Regions from separate parts of the Homo sapiens genome. Here regions 2 and 3 are each linked to region 1. Evidence: promoter capture Hi-C in human tissues and cell types (Jung and others, 2019). All regions are on one chromosome and are shown on one strand. Each heading gives the region's core, a stretch centred on a gene start or on the middle of the fragment in contact. The rest is flanking DNA. Distances are from core to core; before and after follow the strand shown. Region 1 holds the start of RHBDL2 (rhomboid like 2). Region 2 overlaps RRAGC (Ras related GTP binding C). Region 3 overlaps AKIRIN1 (akirin 1).

The links. Contacts are between HindIII fragments. The study calls those that stand out against the background at their distance.
Region 2: a contact is called between a fragment that was not itself captured here and the fragment with the promoter of RHBDL2 in region 1, in 2 of the 25 tissues and cell types used here (bladder and stomach).
Region 3: a fragment that was not itself captured here is called in contact with the fragment with the promoter of RHBDL2 in region 1 in 5 of the 25 tissues and cell types used here (H1 embryonic stem cells, IMR-90 fibroblasts, dorsolateral prefrontal cortex and 2 more).

What each region holds. Positions count from the first base shown.
Region 1 is chr1:38,939,408-38,944,487 of GRCh38, reverse strand. RHBDL2 (rhomboid like 2) reads left to right here and starts at 2,658. Exons shown (of 8, transcript NM_017821.5): 1 at 2,658-2,806. The HindIII fragment of the contact is 22,458 bases long and covers 1-5,080 here.
Region 2 is chr1:38,851,561-38,856,640 of GRCh38, reverse strand. It overlaps RRAGC (Ras related GTP binding C), which reads left to right. Exons shown (of 7, transcript NM_022157.4): 3 at 734-933; 4 at 4,153-4,267; 5 at 4,884-5,026. Among named protein-coding and RNA genes, the nearest start is that of RRAGC, 5.7 kb to the left of the region's middle. The HindIII fragment of the contact is 4,658 bases long and covers 1-4,382 here.
Region 3 is chr1:39,004,487-39,009,566 of GRCh38, reverse strand. AKIRIN1 (akirin 1) reads right to left here. Exons shown (of 5, transcript NM_024595.3): 5 at 3,508-5,080. Among named protein-coding and RNA genes, the nearest start is that of AKIRIN1, 16 kb to the right of the region's middle. The HindIII fragment of the contact is 7,880 bases long and covers 1-5,080 here.

The sequences.
Region 1 (5,080 bases), core at 1,409-3,908:
TCACCGTGTTAGCCAGGATGGTCTTGATCTCCTGACATTGTGATCCTCCCGCCTTGGCCTCCCAAAGTGCTGGGATTACAGACGTGAGCCACCTCACCCAACTCTTTTTCTTTTGAGACAGAGTCTCGCTCTGTCATCCACGCTAGTCTGCAGTGATGTGATCTCTGCTCACTGCAACCTCCGCCTCCTGGGTTCAAGTGATTCTCCTGTCTCAGCCTCCTGAGTAGCTGGGATTACAAGCATTCGCCACCATGCCCAGCTAATTTTTGTATTTTTAGTAGAGACAGGGTTTCACCATGTTGGCCAGGCTTGTCTCAAACTCCTGACCTCAAGTGATCCACCCATCTCGGCCTCCCAAAGTATTGGGATTACAGGCGTGAGCCACCGCGCCTGGCCATTCTTCCTGATTTCTCAATCTTGTTTGTGGTCACCACTATCAACCTAGTTAGTTATTCCAGCTGGAAATCTTCGAGTCATCCTAGATTCCTCCCTTACTCTTTAAGTCCCATCAATGGTACTCCCTTAGCATCTCTTGAATCTCTTTCTCTCACTCCCACCCCCACTCCCTAGCCAATGCCTTGATAAGGCCTACATTATCACTTGCCCTGACTCATGCAACCCTGACTGGTTTTCTTGCCTCTAGTCTTGCCTCCTTCAAACCCTTCTTTACACTGCAGGTCTCAGTGAATTTTTTTTTTTTTAAGACAGGGTCTCACTCTGTCATCCAGGCTAGAGTGCTGTGGTGTGATCATAGCTCATTGCAGCCTCAACCTCTTGGGCTCAAGCTGTCCTCTCACTTCGGCCTCTGGAGTATAGCTGGGACTACATGTGCACACTACCATTGCCCGGATAATTAAAAAAAATTTGTTTTGTAGAGACAGGTGCCACTATGTTGCTCAGGCTGGTCTCGAACTCCTGGGCCTAAGCAATCCTCCAGCCTTGACCTCCCAAATTGCTGGGATTACAGGTGTGAGCCACCACACCTGGCTCCAGTGATCTATTTTAAATGCAGTCTGATAGTTTGTGTCCCTTGTTTAAGGCCTATCTGTGAGCTAGCAGGGTGTGGTGTACCACCTGTAATCCCAGCGCTCTGGGAAGTCAAGGCGGGAGGATCTCTTGAGGCCAGGAGTTCGTGATCACCCTGGGCAACAGAGTGAAATTCCATCTCTACAAAAAATTTAAAAACTGGCTGACCATGGTGGTGGGTGCCTGTAGTCCCAGCTACACAGGCAGCTGAAGTGGGAGGATCACTTGAGTCCAGGAGTTCAAGGCTGCTTCAAGCTATGAGTGCACCACTGCACTCTAGCCTGGGTAACTGAGAGAGATCCTATTTTTTCTTTTTTCTTTTTTTTTGAGATGGAGTCTCACTCTGTTGCCCAGGCTAGAGTGCAGTGGCGCAATCTCGGCTCACTGCAACCTCTGCCTCCCAGAGAGACCCTGTATTGCAACAAACAAACGAACAAACAAACAAACAATCTTTCTATGACTCCCCAGAACCTATAGGACACAGTCCAAACTGTTTACCAAGGCACACAAGGCCCTTCATGATCTGACACTCCCTGCTCACAATTCTGAACTTTGAGTAGTTCCTGCTGAATTCCGTCCCTTCCCATGGCCTTTTCTGTCAGCCTGTGCTCCCCTTCTGTGTGCTCCCCGCTTACAATTCTGGAAAACCCCTGTTCACCTTTCAAAACCCATCTTGTATGTCATGTCATCTAGGAGCTTTTCCAGAACACTTCCACACAGGGGGATTCCTCTCTGGTCCCTTCTGCCTGAATTTTTTTTTTTTTTTTTTTTTGAGACCGAGTTTCGCTGTTGTTGCCCAGGCTGGAGTGCAATGGCGTGATCTTGGCTCACTGCAACCTCCGCCTCCCGGGTTCAAGCGATTCTCCTGCCTCAGCCTCCCGAGTGGCTGGGATTACAGGCATGCACCACCATGCCCAGCTAATTTTGTATTTTTAGTAGAGATGAGGTTTCTCCATGTTGATCAGGCTGGTCTCGAACTCCCGACTTCAGGTGATCCACCCACCTCAACCTCCCAAAGTGCTGGGATTACAGGCGTGAGACACCATGCCTGGCCACCTTCTGCCTGAATCTTGAGCAGCGTCTACTTAGAGCTTCATTCTTTGTCTTCCTAGTAGAGTAGGAGGTCAGGGACCCCGTTAATCTACCTCTTCATCCTCAGGGCCTCACACAAGGCCAGTTATTCTCAAAATGCTTTGAATGAATAATCAGAGCTGGCAAAGCTATTTCACCAGGGGCCATGGTGTCACCAATTCTTCTGTGGACTAAATCTCTGCTGAGGATCGTCAAGTCACCCACCCTGGTGCCCAGTACAGGCCTGGCTTCAGACTGGAGCATAACCAAATGCAGAGTGATAGAGACCACCCGGTTGAGGCGTCAGAGAGCTGAGAGTGGAGAGCAGGGGACCCAGGCATGAAGCAGGAGGGCAGGACTTGGAGGAGGAATGGAGCTCAGTGTCCTGGAGAAAGAGCAGAGGCTGCCACCGGCTCCCTGGCTAAGACCCAAGCAGGCGAAGAGGAGGACTCATTCATCCAGGGCCAGCCCAGGAGCAAGACTGCCAAGCAGGCCGGCCCAGCCCAGCTGGGAGGGGATTTCCTCAGCCTCCCTCCTCCTGGGCTGGGCAGCTTTGGAACCTGTCTGGAGGATTTTTGTTTGGGGAGGGACGGAGGAGCGCCTGGCAGAGCGGGATCTTCAGGGCAGCGGGCAACCCCTTGGCCCAGGAAGCCTGGAACGCAAGGACCGGAGGGCGTGGGCTGGGACGCCCCTACCTTGGTCTTTCAGGGTAAGATGTGGGAGCTGGGAGGGAGTGGAGGGAGTCCTATGTCAGGACAAGGGGGCGGCAGCAGGAAGTGCAGGGCCGAGGGGTGCTGTGCAGGAAGGAGGAGGGACATGTGGGGTGCTTCGCTGGTAACCCCCCTTCTGGAGTGACCTCCTGGTGTGGCCGCTTTGGATCCTGCTACTTTCATTTTAAAAGTTGGCAGCATGTTGGGCCAGGAGTCAGGGGCTATCTTCCCGAGGGAAATGGCAGGGAAGGGCTGAGGATGAGGACAGAGTAATTCCATTCCTCTTCCCTGCCCTTCACACTGGCTTTCCCTCCAGCCATCACGTTCTCCCCAGCACCCCCTACCCTCCTAAGTTTTTCTAACTCCAACTAAGCCAGTTCCTAGCCCTTTGCTGACCTGGACACTGGAGACCACAGCCAGGGAGACAGTCTCCACTTCTACCCGCAAGGCGGCTCCTCCAGAGTTATTTGTTTCCTTCTTCCTGGTGTGGGTATCAGAGAGATTTCACTCAATCTTTCATTTATTCATTAGTGTTCATTTGTTTATTCATCACTGTTTGAGCATATACCTGGATTCTCTGGAGGGAGGGCTGCGCAATTTCTGCTCCTCTTGGGAATAAGAAAACTGAAACTTATTGCTCAAACATTTGATGGTCATCTACAAGCTGGTGGGCAGCATGGCAGAGCAGAAAATTATTTTGGAGTCACAAAGACACTTGGCTTTTTATCCCATATCTCCTGTTTACCTCCTGAGCCTCAGTTTCCTCAGCTATAATTTTTTTTTAAAGAGACAGGGTCTTGCTACCTTGCCCAGGCTGCAGTGCAGTGGCTGATCATAGCTTACTACAACTTCAAACTCCTGTGCTCAAGCAGTCTTCTTGCCTCAGCTTCCTGAGTTAACTGAGGCACGGCGGCCAGCTCAAAATGATATTTTTATGAAGATGACAGGGAACAATGCATGTTGAATACCAAGCTGGGTGCCAGGCTCATTGTGGAGCCTTCCTAAACACCTGTGCTTTTCCCTTCCTCTTTGACTGCCTTCTTGCCATGCCTCTCCCTAACCAGCAACTCCCTCACCTTAGGCTTGTAAAGATATGCTAGACAACCCCTGGCCTTGAAAGCACGTAGGCAGCGTGTAAACAGAACTGGCCAGTGACGGGTGGAGTGGTGAAGGGAGAGGGAAGGTTGGGTTCCATGGCTCGCTCCCAGTGATTTGGGAGGCCGAGGCGGGAGGATTCCTTGAGTCCAGGAGTTCGAGACCAGCCTGGGCAATAAAGTGAGGCCTTGTCTTTAAAAAATAAAATAAAAAAGAAGGGAGAGCCACATAGGCATGGGATTAGGGAAGGTGTCAGGTGCTGGTTTGTGGTAAAAATACTGGACCAGGGCTGAGTCCAGACATGCTGTGTTTCTGAATTTGCACACTCAACACTGAGCAAGTGATGGGAACCACCAATTCCTAAACTATGGATGCAGGCTAAGGGCTTTTAAATGCATTCTCTTATTTAATCATAATCCTCTTATGATATTATTATTAACCCTATTTTATAGATGGGGAAATGAAGATACAAACAGGTTAAGGGATTTGCCTAAGGTCACATGGCTAATAAGTAATGGATCCAGAATTCAAGTCTAGGTCAGACTCTAAACTCCATGCTTTTTGCTCTGGTGCTTGCTGTCTTTCAAGTTTCTCTGTATTAGAAAGACCAGGCTGGGGGCGGTGACTCATGCCTGTAGTCCCAACATTTTGGGAGGCTGAGGTAGGAGGATTGCTTGAAGCCAGGAGTTCAAAGCCAGCCTGGGCAACAAGCGAGACCCTGTCTCAAAAAAAAAAGAAGTCCTGGCACGGTGGCTCACGCCAGCCGTAGTAATCCCAGCACTTTAGGAGGCCAAGGTGGGAGAATTGCTTGAGTCCAGGACTTTGAGACTGGCCTGGGCAACACAGTGAGACCTCTTCTCTACAAAAAATAAAACAAAATTAGCCTGGTGTGGTGGTGTGCACCTGTAGTCTCAGCTACTTGGTTTTTTTTTTGAGGTGGAGCCTCACTCTGTGGCCCAGGCTGGAGTGCAGTGGCGGCATCCCCATCTCAGTTGATTCTCTCACCTCAGCCTCCTGAATAGCTGGGACTATAGGTGCACACCATCATGCCCAGCTAACTTTTGTTGTTGTTGTTGTTGTATTTTTGGTAGAGACAAGGTTTCATCATGTTGCCCAGGATGGTCTTGAACTCCTGGACTCGAGTGATCCACCTGCCTTGGCCTCCCAAAGTGTGGGGA
Region 2 (5,080 bases), core at 804-3,303, 87 kb after region 1:
AACATTGGCTTTCCACTTTTATTGGTTGCCATATTTTATAATAATTTTATAATAATAGTGATGTTATTCCCTGAAAATATCCCATCCCATAACATAAAGAGGAATATGAGAACTGAGTCAGTAGATATTAGAGTGAATAGTTTACTTAATTGTCAAAATTGAGTTTAGCTCAACAAACATTTATGGAGGGCCTAGCATGTGGCAGTCAGTGAGATGAATGGGGCAAGTCCCTATCCTTTAAGAAGCTTACTTTTTATAAGCTTAAGCATTAGTTAAGAATGCTTTCTGAGTGATAGGCTCTACAGAGGGTGCCTTCACGTACAGGACCTAATTAATTTAAGCTTCACAATATTGTTAGGTAGGTATTGTAATTCTGATCTTACAGATGAGAAAACTGAGATCAGAGTTTAAGCAGCTTGCTTAAAGTGACACACTGAATAAATGGCAGAGCTGGGATTACTTAAAAAAATTATGTTGGGAAAAAATGTTCATATCATTTTTTTCTTTCTTAAATTAATATTAAAAATTACAAGCATTAACTTGGTAATTGAATTTTTTTATCTTGAGACAATTGAAGAGTTATTTAGTAGTATAGTATATTTGAATGTTTGAATATTGATGATAATTAGGATAGTATTTTTCTGTGGTTGGGGAAAGAGGTGGTTTGAGGCTTTAACTCATTACTTGGCTTTTGTAAGATTTATTTTAAAAAATATTTTGTTCTGACTTACAGGATGACTACATGGAGGCTTTAACAAGACTTCACATTACTGTTTCTAAAGCCTACAAAGTTAACCCAGACATGAATTTTGAGGTTTTTATTCACAAAGTTGATGGTCTGTCTGATGATCACAAAATAGAAACACAGAGGGACATTCATCAAAGGGCCAATGATGACCTTGCAGATGCTGGGCTAGAAAAACTCCATCTTAGGTAACAACATGTGTGTTTGATATGAAAGCCCTGAACAAGGTGTAAATGTATTCCCATCTCTGTCATTACAAACACCATAGCTTTCTGCTACCTGTGTGCCCTTTGCCACATCTTTTATGTTTTTGATCTTGTTGTTGAATTCCAGGCTGTCTGGGGAGCCTGATATTGAGAAATTACCCACTTTTTGCGTTTTCCTGGAGATTGAAGTCATGTGAAGTGTTTCCACTGGTGCTTTTCCAAATTCATCTCAAGAGACTGGAGTCAGGCTGTTTCTTCATGGCATAAATCTGCTTTGGGACTCCTTCCTCTTGGTTTCATTACTTTTCCCCGCCTTGCATCAGTGAAGTGAATCTGTCACATTTGTTGTGGAAGTCTTTAGCTTGAGTCTTAGACAGTATCTTTCTCAGTAGGAACAGCCTTATACAGAGAGTGCACTTTCAAATCTGGACTGACTCTTTTTATTTTTCATTTTTATTTTTCCTGCTGGCTCCCTTCCACCTCCCCCCTGGACTGACTGTAATATATCTTAGCTTTTAAAACACTTTATACTTTTATGAAACTCTATAAAGTTTGGCTTAGGTGGGTTTATCTTATAAATGTGCATAAGGCTGCTATTAAATTTAGAGGACTATTGGTTTGTAACTACTGTTAAGAAATTATTATTAAATAATACCTACTTGATAGGATTGATTTGTGTATTTGCATTCTAAAAGTGTATGAGGAATATTTTTGTACATCTTATTTTATTTGGTGATATAGGTAGAAATGAGTATTAAAAAGTACCCAAGAAAATATTCTCTTGACGATAGAAGTAGCTTAAAGAGGGAGAAGGGGAGAGAGACAGCAAGTTATTTCTCTGTCCCCGTTCTATTGTTGTGACTTCTTTATGGGCTCAAGCTAACTGCTATCCCTCCCCCTAAAATTCTCTGGGTCTCAGGCTCCAAGATCTTTCAGTTATTCTTCTAGGAAACCATGTCGAAAAGTCTCATTGACCTCTAGTTTGCCTGGATTAAATTTCTAAATAATTTGAAAATAATTCATGTTAAAAAAATAAAAATTCAGCAATGTTTGTAGGAGAAAATGTAAGTGGCTCTCCACAAAAATTCAGTCTTATTTTTTTGGGAATCCACTGCTAATAGTTTTTTACCTGGATTTTGAGCCGTTCTTGTCCTGTGTTCCCCAGTGCTCCATGGGGATCCTTCTGATTCTCTTTACTCCGTGTCTGTGTTCCTTTCCAGGGCATCCCACCCTAGTGGTACATGCCATCCCTTTCCTCAGTACCATGTAGGGTCCTAGACCTTGTTAACTTCAGTAGAATGTTGCATCAAGCTTTTATTTAGGCCAGGCATAGTGGCTTATGCCTATAATCCCAGCACTTTGGGAGGCCGAGGCAGGCAGATCACTTGAGGCCAGGAGTTTGAGACCAGCCTGGCCAACATGGCGAAACTCCGTCTCTACTAAAAATACAAAAAATTAGCCGGGCATTGTGGTGTGTGCCTGTAGTCCCAGCTACTTGGGAGGCTGAGAGAGGAGAATCGCTTGAACCCAGGAGGTGGAGGTTGCAGTGAGCCAAGATCGTGCCACTGGACTCCAGCCTGGGTGACAGAGCAAGACTCCGTCTCAAAAAAAAAAAAAAAAAAAAGACTTTTATTTAGTACTAGCAGTCCTATGGATGAAGCTCCTTTTCATTTCCAGTTTCTAGAAACTCAGTTTACTAAAATGCCCTGTGACTTGCAGGTTCTCCCTGTCCCCATTTACCTCAAGCCTCAAAGGTGCGGGACATTCTTTCTTTGCTCACCTTTTGGCCTACAGGAAACACTAAAATATTCCTTTCTCCCTAGTATCTATGGGGTCATCTTGGCCTTACCTGTTCCAGTGCTCTTACATCTAGATTAGACCCCTGTCTTGCTAGATTAGGTTCTTAGGTCAGCTCCTTGAAAGTATTTTTTTTTTTTTTTTTGAGATGGAGTTTCACTCTTGTTGCCCAGGCTGGAGTGCAATGATGCCATCTCGGCTCACCGCAACCTCTGCCTCCCTGGTTCAAGCGATTCTCCTGCCTGAGCCTCCCAAGTAGCTGGGATTACAGGCATGCGCCACCACGCCTGGCTAATTTTTTGTATTTTTAGTAGACATGGGGTTTCTCCATGTTGGTCCGGCTGATCTCGAACTCCCGACCTCAAGTGGTCCACCTGCCTTGGCCTCCCAAAGTGCTGGGATTACAGGCGTGAGCCATCGCGCCCAGCTGAAAGTATCTTTAAATTACCTATAAAGTTCTGTGTCTCTGATGTTATATATACGTATAAATGTGTGGTGGATGCGACTATATAATGAAGATTGTACTCCCTGAGTTATAAAGCAGATAGAATTGTTGACAGTGTTTAAATTGTTAAAGGCTTCCCTCTCAAATACGTGTTTTATTGAATCTACATGTGTTACTTCTCCACCGTAAGTCCTTTTAGGCCTCCAGACTCCTGTAGATTCCTCCATTCTCTGTAGAGTCCCGACTCCCATCCTGTTTAATATGCTCTTTACATAAATTGTAAACACCAATTGTATTCATTTGTTTATTCAGCAGATACTTATGAGCACTGTTCAGGGAAGTGGGCTTGCTGCTAGGAGCGAGACTGACAAAGTCTCTTTCCCCTGGAACTTAACATTTTCAGTGACACAGCTCAGAAGCACCTAAATGAATGTATAGTATCGTTTTAAGTACTTACCAGTGGTGTGAAGAAAAACAAATTAGGGGAAAGGGGTTGAAAGCCTTGGGTACACGAGTGCTATTTTAGGTAGGCTGGTCTGGAAAGAACTTTTTGAGGTGACATTTTAGTAGAAACCTGAATTATGTTCTTATTTAATAAATGTCACATAACTCTTCTAGTTTTCTCGGTTTTAGTCTTATTTTTGGTCTCAGTTATGTGCTTAAAAAAAGCTTTTTGGATCAGATTGCAAAGACTTCGGTGAATATTGGAGTTTATGTACCTGAAAATCCTTTTCTCAGTACTACTTCAGTTGCCCCCTGTGTAAATGCAGTAAAGAGATGAAGCCAGGTGGGAAAGTGTATTTGTCATCTTGAGTGATGGGTATGGTAGACAAGATAAAGAGGCTTTATTGAACTCACTGAAATCAAATGTTAAGAAACTTAAAATTTTATGTATTATAATAGTTGTCATAGAACATAAGGTATTTTTCAAATTAATCAAGCTATGTTGTGTTTTTCAGCTTTTATCTGACTAGTATCTATGACCATTCAATATTTGAAGCCTTTAGTAAGGTGGTGCAGAAACTCATTCCACAACTGCCGACCTTGGAAAACCTATTAAATATCTTTATATCAGTAAGTGAGCAATTTATATTTAATTCACTGCAGCTTCTGATTCCATTTTTGGGAATATATTTGTGTTTTCAAATTTTCCAAAAAAGTCTTGAATTAATCTGTATCAAGTACAAAGACTAGTGACCCACTTAACATGTAAAATAAATGATAACATATTATTCAAGTTATTTTCTGAATTCTTAAATAGATGTTGATGTCAACGTGTAATTCTTTTATGGTTTGTAAATTGCCACATAACGCCTTTCTTGATAGCAAAGTAATTCAAATCAGAGATGGTTTATATTAATAAGAGGATTATTGAAAATGTAGCATTGCTTGATTTTTAGAGATTTTTGTTAAATTTTTTGTGATGTCTTAGAAAACAATTCATTTGAGTAAAGAGGAAGAAGAAGATTTGACTTAGGAAATTGTGTCAGTAAATCAGAGTAGAGAAATAATTCCTCTTTCATTCTTTGGATAATAGAAGAGTCTCTCAAGCAAGTGCTATTTGTTTTTTGGTATTGGGTTATATAATTAAAAATGACCTTGGATGTTATTCAGTAATTCTAGATCTTCGATAAGTTGTAAATTGTGATTCTTAAAAAATACTGAACAGTTTCCCATTTGTTTTTCCAAGAATTCAGGTATTGAAAAAGCTTTTCTCTTTGATGTTGTCAGCAAAATCTACATTGCAACAGACAGTTCCCCTGTGGATATGCAATCTTATGAACTTTGCTGTGACATGATCGATGTTGTAATTGATGTGTCTTGTATATATGGGTAAGTTATGTATATATTCCTGCAATATCTCAGACAGGCGGAAAACTATTAACT
Region 3 (5,080 bases), core at 767-3,266, 66 kb before region 1:
ACTACACAGGGCGCGGTGGCTCACGTCTGTAATCCCAGCTCTTTCAGAGGTTGAGGCGGGTGGATCACGAGGTCAGAAGTTTGAGACCAGTCTGGCCAATATGATGAAACCCCTTCTCTATTGAAAAATACAATAGCCAGGCGTGGTGGCGGGCGCCTGTAATCCAAGCTATTCAGGAGACTGAGGCAGAACTGCTTGAACCCAGGCGGCGGAGGATGCGGTGAGCTGAAATTGCGCCACTGCACTCCAGCCTGGGTGACAGACTGAGACTCTGTCTCAAAAAAGAAAAAAAAAAAGGAGATATTAGATACAGCAATAAGTAAAACGAAACAAAGACCCATGAAGACCAGAACTTTAAATTGTCAAAATATCACACCTTCAGTACAATAAAGTGCTAATTATTTACTTGAAAGTATGGTTTGGTGGCCAGGTGCGGTGGCTCACACCTGTAATCCCAGCACTTTGGGAGGCTAAGGCGAGTGGATCACGAGGTCAGAAGTTCAAGACCCACCCAACCAACATGGTAAAACCCCGTCTCTACTAAAAATACAAAATTAGCTGGGCGTGGTGGTGCATGCCTGTAATCCCACTTACTTGGGAGGCTGAGGCAGGAGAATCACTTGAACCCGGGAGACGGAAGTTGCAGTGAGCCGAGATTGCACCAGTGCATTCCAGCCTGGGCAACAAGAATGAAACTTCATCTCAAAAAAAAGAAAAAAAAAAAGTATGGTTTAGGGTGGGTTAATGTACGCTTTTTTCCAGGTGTCCAACCTTATCCAGTTTAACTGTAGCTCTGGAAGACTACAGCACTCCCTCAATCTGTTTTCAACAAAGGACTCCAGAGTAGTAGAGAAGTTTCTGTTCCTTTTTAATAGCCCATGGGCACTATTACACTCTGTTCCTTAAGAACAGTATTTTACAAACTATTTTAAAGCCATGCTATTTTCTGTTAAACAAAATTCTCACACCCATTTTTGTACCTAAAATTCCAAAATTAAAAATGCTTGAAATAAAATTGGTCATTTCAAATCTTTTTCCCTCCCCAAATAGTATGCTCTGTGTCCCCATCCTTGAGAATCATTGCTCTAAACAGTTGTTCAATAGCTTTTTCTGTGACATACTTACTTTGGCAATCAGTTTTTATTTGTAAGCAAAAAGGGTATTTTCATCACACCTCAACTTAAGGTATAACAGCCTTAAGAATGACAAATTAGGGTAAGTGTTGACCAACTCATGATGCAACAAGGATTATAAATGAAGTAACTTTGCCTTGTTTGTTGCTCTTTTTTCTTTTTTTTAATTGAGACAGAGTTTTGCTCTTGTTGCCCAGGCTGGAGTGCAATGGTGTGATCTCGGCTCACCTCAACCTCCACCTCCCAAGTTCAAGTGATTCTCCTGCCTCAGCCTTCCAAGTAGCTGGGATTACAGGAATGCACCACCACGCCCGGCTAATTTTGCATTTTTAGTAGAGATGGGATTTCTCCATGTTGGCCAGGCTGGTCTTGAACTCCCATTCTCAGGTGATCTGCCCGCCTCGGCCTCCCAAAGTGCTGGGATTACAGGCATGGGCCACCGTGCCCAGCCTGTGTGCTTTTTCCCAAATGTTTCTTCATGCTTTAGTGCAAAGGCCAGCACACTTTTCTGTAAAAGGACACAGAGTAAGTATTTTCAGCTCTGTGGCCCATGCTTTGGTCTTTGTAGCACCTACTCTACTCAAGTCTGGAGTTAGTGTGAAAACTGCCACAGACAAATGAATAGGTGTAGCAGTGTTTCTACAAAACTTTACAAAAATAGGCCAGTTTTTGTATGACCCTGCTATATTAACATACAAAACATACTGAATACAGATTCACAGAAAGGCATTACCAAATTCATTTGTCATTCATCTTTTATTTCCTTAATCAAACAAAGGTACAAATTCTAATAAGAAAAAGTGAGATCTTTATGTTAACAAGGGGCTATTCATATTGGAAAGCTGAGAATCACTACTTGGGACACAAAAGTTTGGGTCTCCAGGTCTGACGAAGACTACTATAAAGAAACCTGCTCTAACATTGTAAAGTGCATAGTCTATGCCCTAAGCTGTGCTAAATACTTTCTTTACATGGATGATTTCTTGCATTTGAAAACAAAACCCAATATGAACCTACTATTAACCTCGATTTTACAGGTAAGCAAGCCATGTTTCAGCAAGTTTAGTAATCTGGCAAGGCTGACATAACCAAATTAGTGGCAGAGAAGAAACCAAACTACAGAGCTACAACCACGCAGTCAGTCCTTTACTATGCTAGCCAACCAATCCTCCATGGTAAGAAGATTCACCAGGTTTGAAAGATTGGCTTAAATCCTTTTTTTTTTTTGAGACATAGTCTTAACTCTGTTGCCAGGCTGGAGTGCAATGGCACAATCTCGGCTCACTGCAACCTCCGCCTCATGGTTTCAGGTTGATTCTCCCGCCTCAGCCTTCCAAGTAGCTGAGATTACAGGCGCCCGCCACTACGCCCAGCTAATTTTTGTATTTTAGTAGAGATGGGGTTTCACCATGTTGGTCAAGCTGGTCTCAAACTCCAGACCTCGGGTGATCTGCCCCTCAGCCTTCCAAAGTGCTGGGATTACAGGCGTGCGCCACCCGCTGGCTTAAATTCTTGTACTCTCTGATGGTCTTCCCCTTTGGAAGATCTTAACAATTATCACTGCCTTAGGAGCTCTGATCTTCCTTTTAACTTCTGACCCAAGGATGGACACTTACTTTTTCCTCTTAAGCTTAAGACTTTATCAAGGATAATAACTGGAATTAAAATAGAGAAAAAAATTAGCTAGCTCACCAGATATTCTGAAAACACTGTTCCTGAGAAACCCTTATACGTTTTTATAGGTTGACGTCTTCCTTGGTCTATAATTTCCATGGGACAAAGACATTTCTCTACCTGGGAGTGCCCTTAAATTCAAGCTCTGGAAATCAAGGTCTAGGGAAAAATTCATTCACCAGTCTGAGACCTACCTTCCAGGTCCCCATTTTCTGTCCCAGTTGTCTTTTCTCTAGATTATAAACACTAAACAAACATGTGTGGTCTCTTTAGAGGGGATCCCAAAACCCAGCCCTGGTGGTTTGGTCTTACCTTGTGGCCTCAGAGGGCTACCTTATCATTATATGATAGCCTAACAACAATGTGGTATAGTGGGGCGGGTGGTGAGCAGGTGTCATTTTCCTTAGAGAAACCTACTCTACTTCCCAGCCAGGAGCCACTTAGTTGGAATGGGGACTGACACTTTATAGTTAAGTGAGCACATCACACTGATCTCTAAAACAAGACTTCAGTGGGGCAGCATTCCCCATTACCAGTCCAGCCTCCACAGCTTCTGATGGCTCCCACAGCTGCCCTTTCTTTATTTTGGTGTGACTAGCCCACTGCAGAGCCATTCCCATTACAGCCACTGCTATGTTCCTCTTTTAGGAACAAGTGACTACCCTGAAAAAAGAAGAGATGAAACAAATCACCCTTCAAATACAAAGTAAAATCATTCTTTAATTATTAAAAAAAAATCACTGTTGGGCTTTTTTTTTTAAAGGTCCATAAATTTTCAATGCAATGTTGAACTGGGGAAATGGTTATAGCAGCTCTCACATAAGTTATTTGAATTAATAAACATTATCACAGTATTAAGAAGGCAAGGTAAACAAATAGCTTAAGTATTTTATTTGTTTGCAACTAAGCTTGTTAACACTATATAATGAAAATGTACAAAGAATAATGTTGCAGTTTTTGGTTAGATTTAAGTCAAAGACATTCATTAATAAGGAATCTTCGAATGTGAATATTCCAGAAATTTCTCTAAGCCATCTGATCACAACAACTGTCTCTGAATATTACCTTACTTTGGAAGGTATTGGCATACATTTGAATTAAACTCAGAATTTTTCAAAATAAGCCCTAATTAAAAAAACTATTCTATATTCAAAGTAAAACAATATTAATAGAACTTTCCTTTCCAGAAACAATGAAGGAAACAAGGCATTTTGTAAAATGTGGTCCTGAACAAGTCACAGTAAAAAATAAATGTATACTTAACTTCCACCTCCTCAAAACAGAGGCTACTTTCTGTTCCTCAGCCTTGGAAACAAGGTGAAGAACAGCCTATATGCGACTTCGGGCAGGGGGTTGCCAAAACAAAGCTGAAGCAGTTGACCATGGACACCTCAAAAGAATTTGGGAGAACCCGACCAAAGGATCCAAATTCTATGTTTTTTTTTTTTTTTTGAGACGAAGTCTCGTTTTGTTGCCCAGGCTGGAGTGCAGTGGCATGATCTGTGCTCACTGCAACCGCCACCTCCAGGGTTCAAGTGATTCTCCTGCCTCAGCCTCCCAAGCAGCTGGGATTACAGACGCCTGCCACCACGCCCGGCTAACTTTGTTGTATTTTTAGTAGAGATGGGGTTTCACCATATTGGCCAGGGTGGTCTCGAACTCCTGACCTCAAGTGATCCGCATGCCTCGGACTCCCAAAGTGCTGGGATTACAGGCGTGAGCCACTGCGCCCAGCCCAAATTATATTTTTTAATAACTAATACAAAGGTGAAGTGGCTCCTCCCAAGTAGCAGTGCTGCCGGGGCCTGGCCCAGGCCTAGCCCTGGGCTCACCTCTCATGCTCCCAAGCCAACCCTGATGCTCCTGGCTCCAGGGTAGACCTTTTCCCTTTAGAGGTTCAGTGTCCAGGGAGCTCTATGATAATTGTGTGAATGAGGTGAGCGCTGACTCCATGTGAGTATTTTAAGGCTTGGAGTCAAAGAATTAACCTAACATGCCCAGGCAGAGTCCATGTGTCAATGGCCCGTCTCCAGTTTGTTCTAATTTCTCACCACGTGTCTGTAGATATAGGACCGCAGACCTTCGCTTTATCATCATAATCACATCTAATGTCCATCCTAACTTACGATTCATATTCTGTGCCTGGAAACAGTCCCTGTATTTAACAATACCTACACATAAAAACAATCCACTGTTACAACTTGTATGGTCACAAAACATTAATGATCTTCTTTAGACCAAGCAAATGTTTTTTTACCATAATTGTCGTGCAC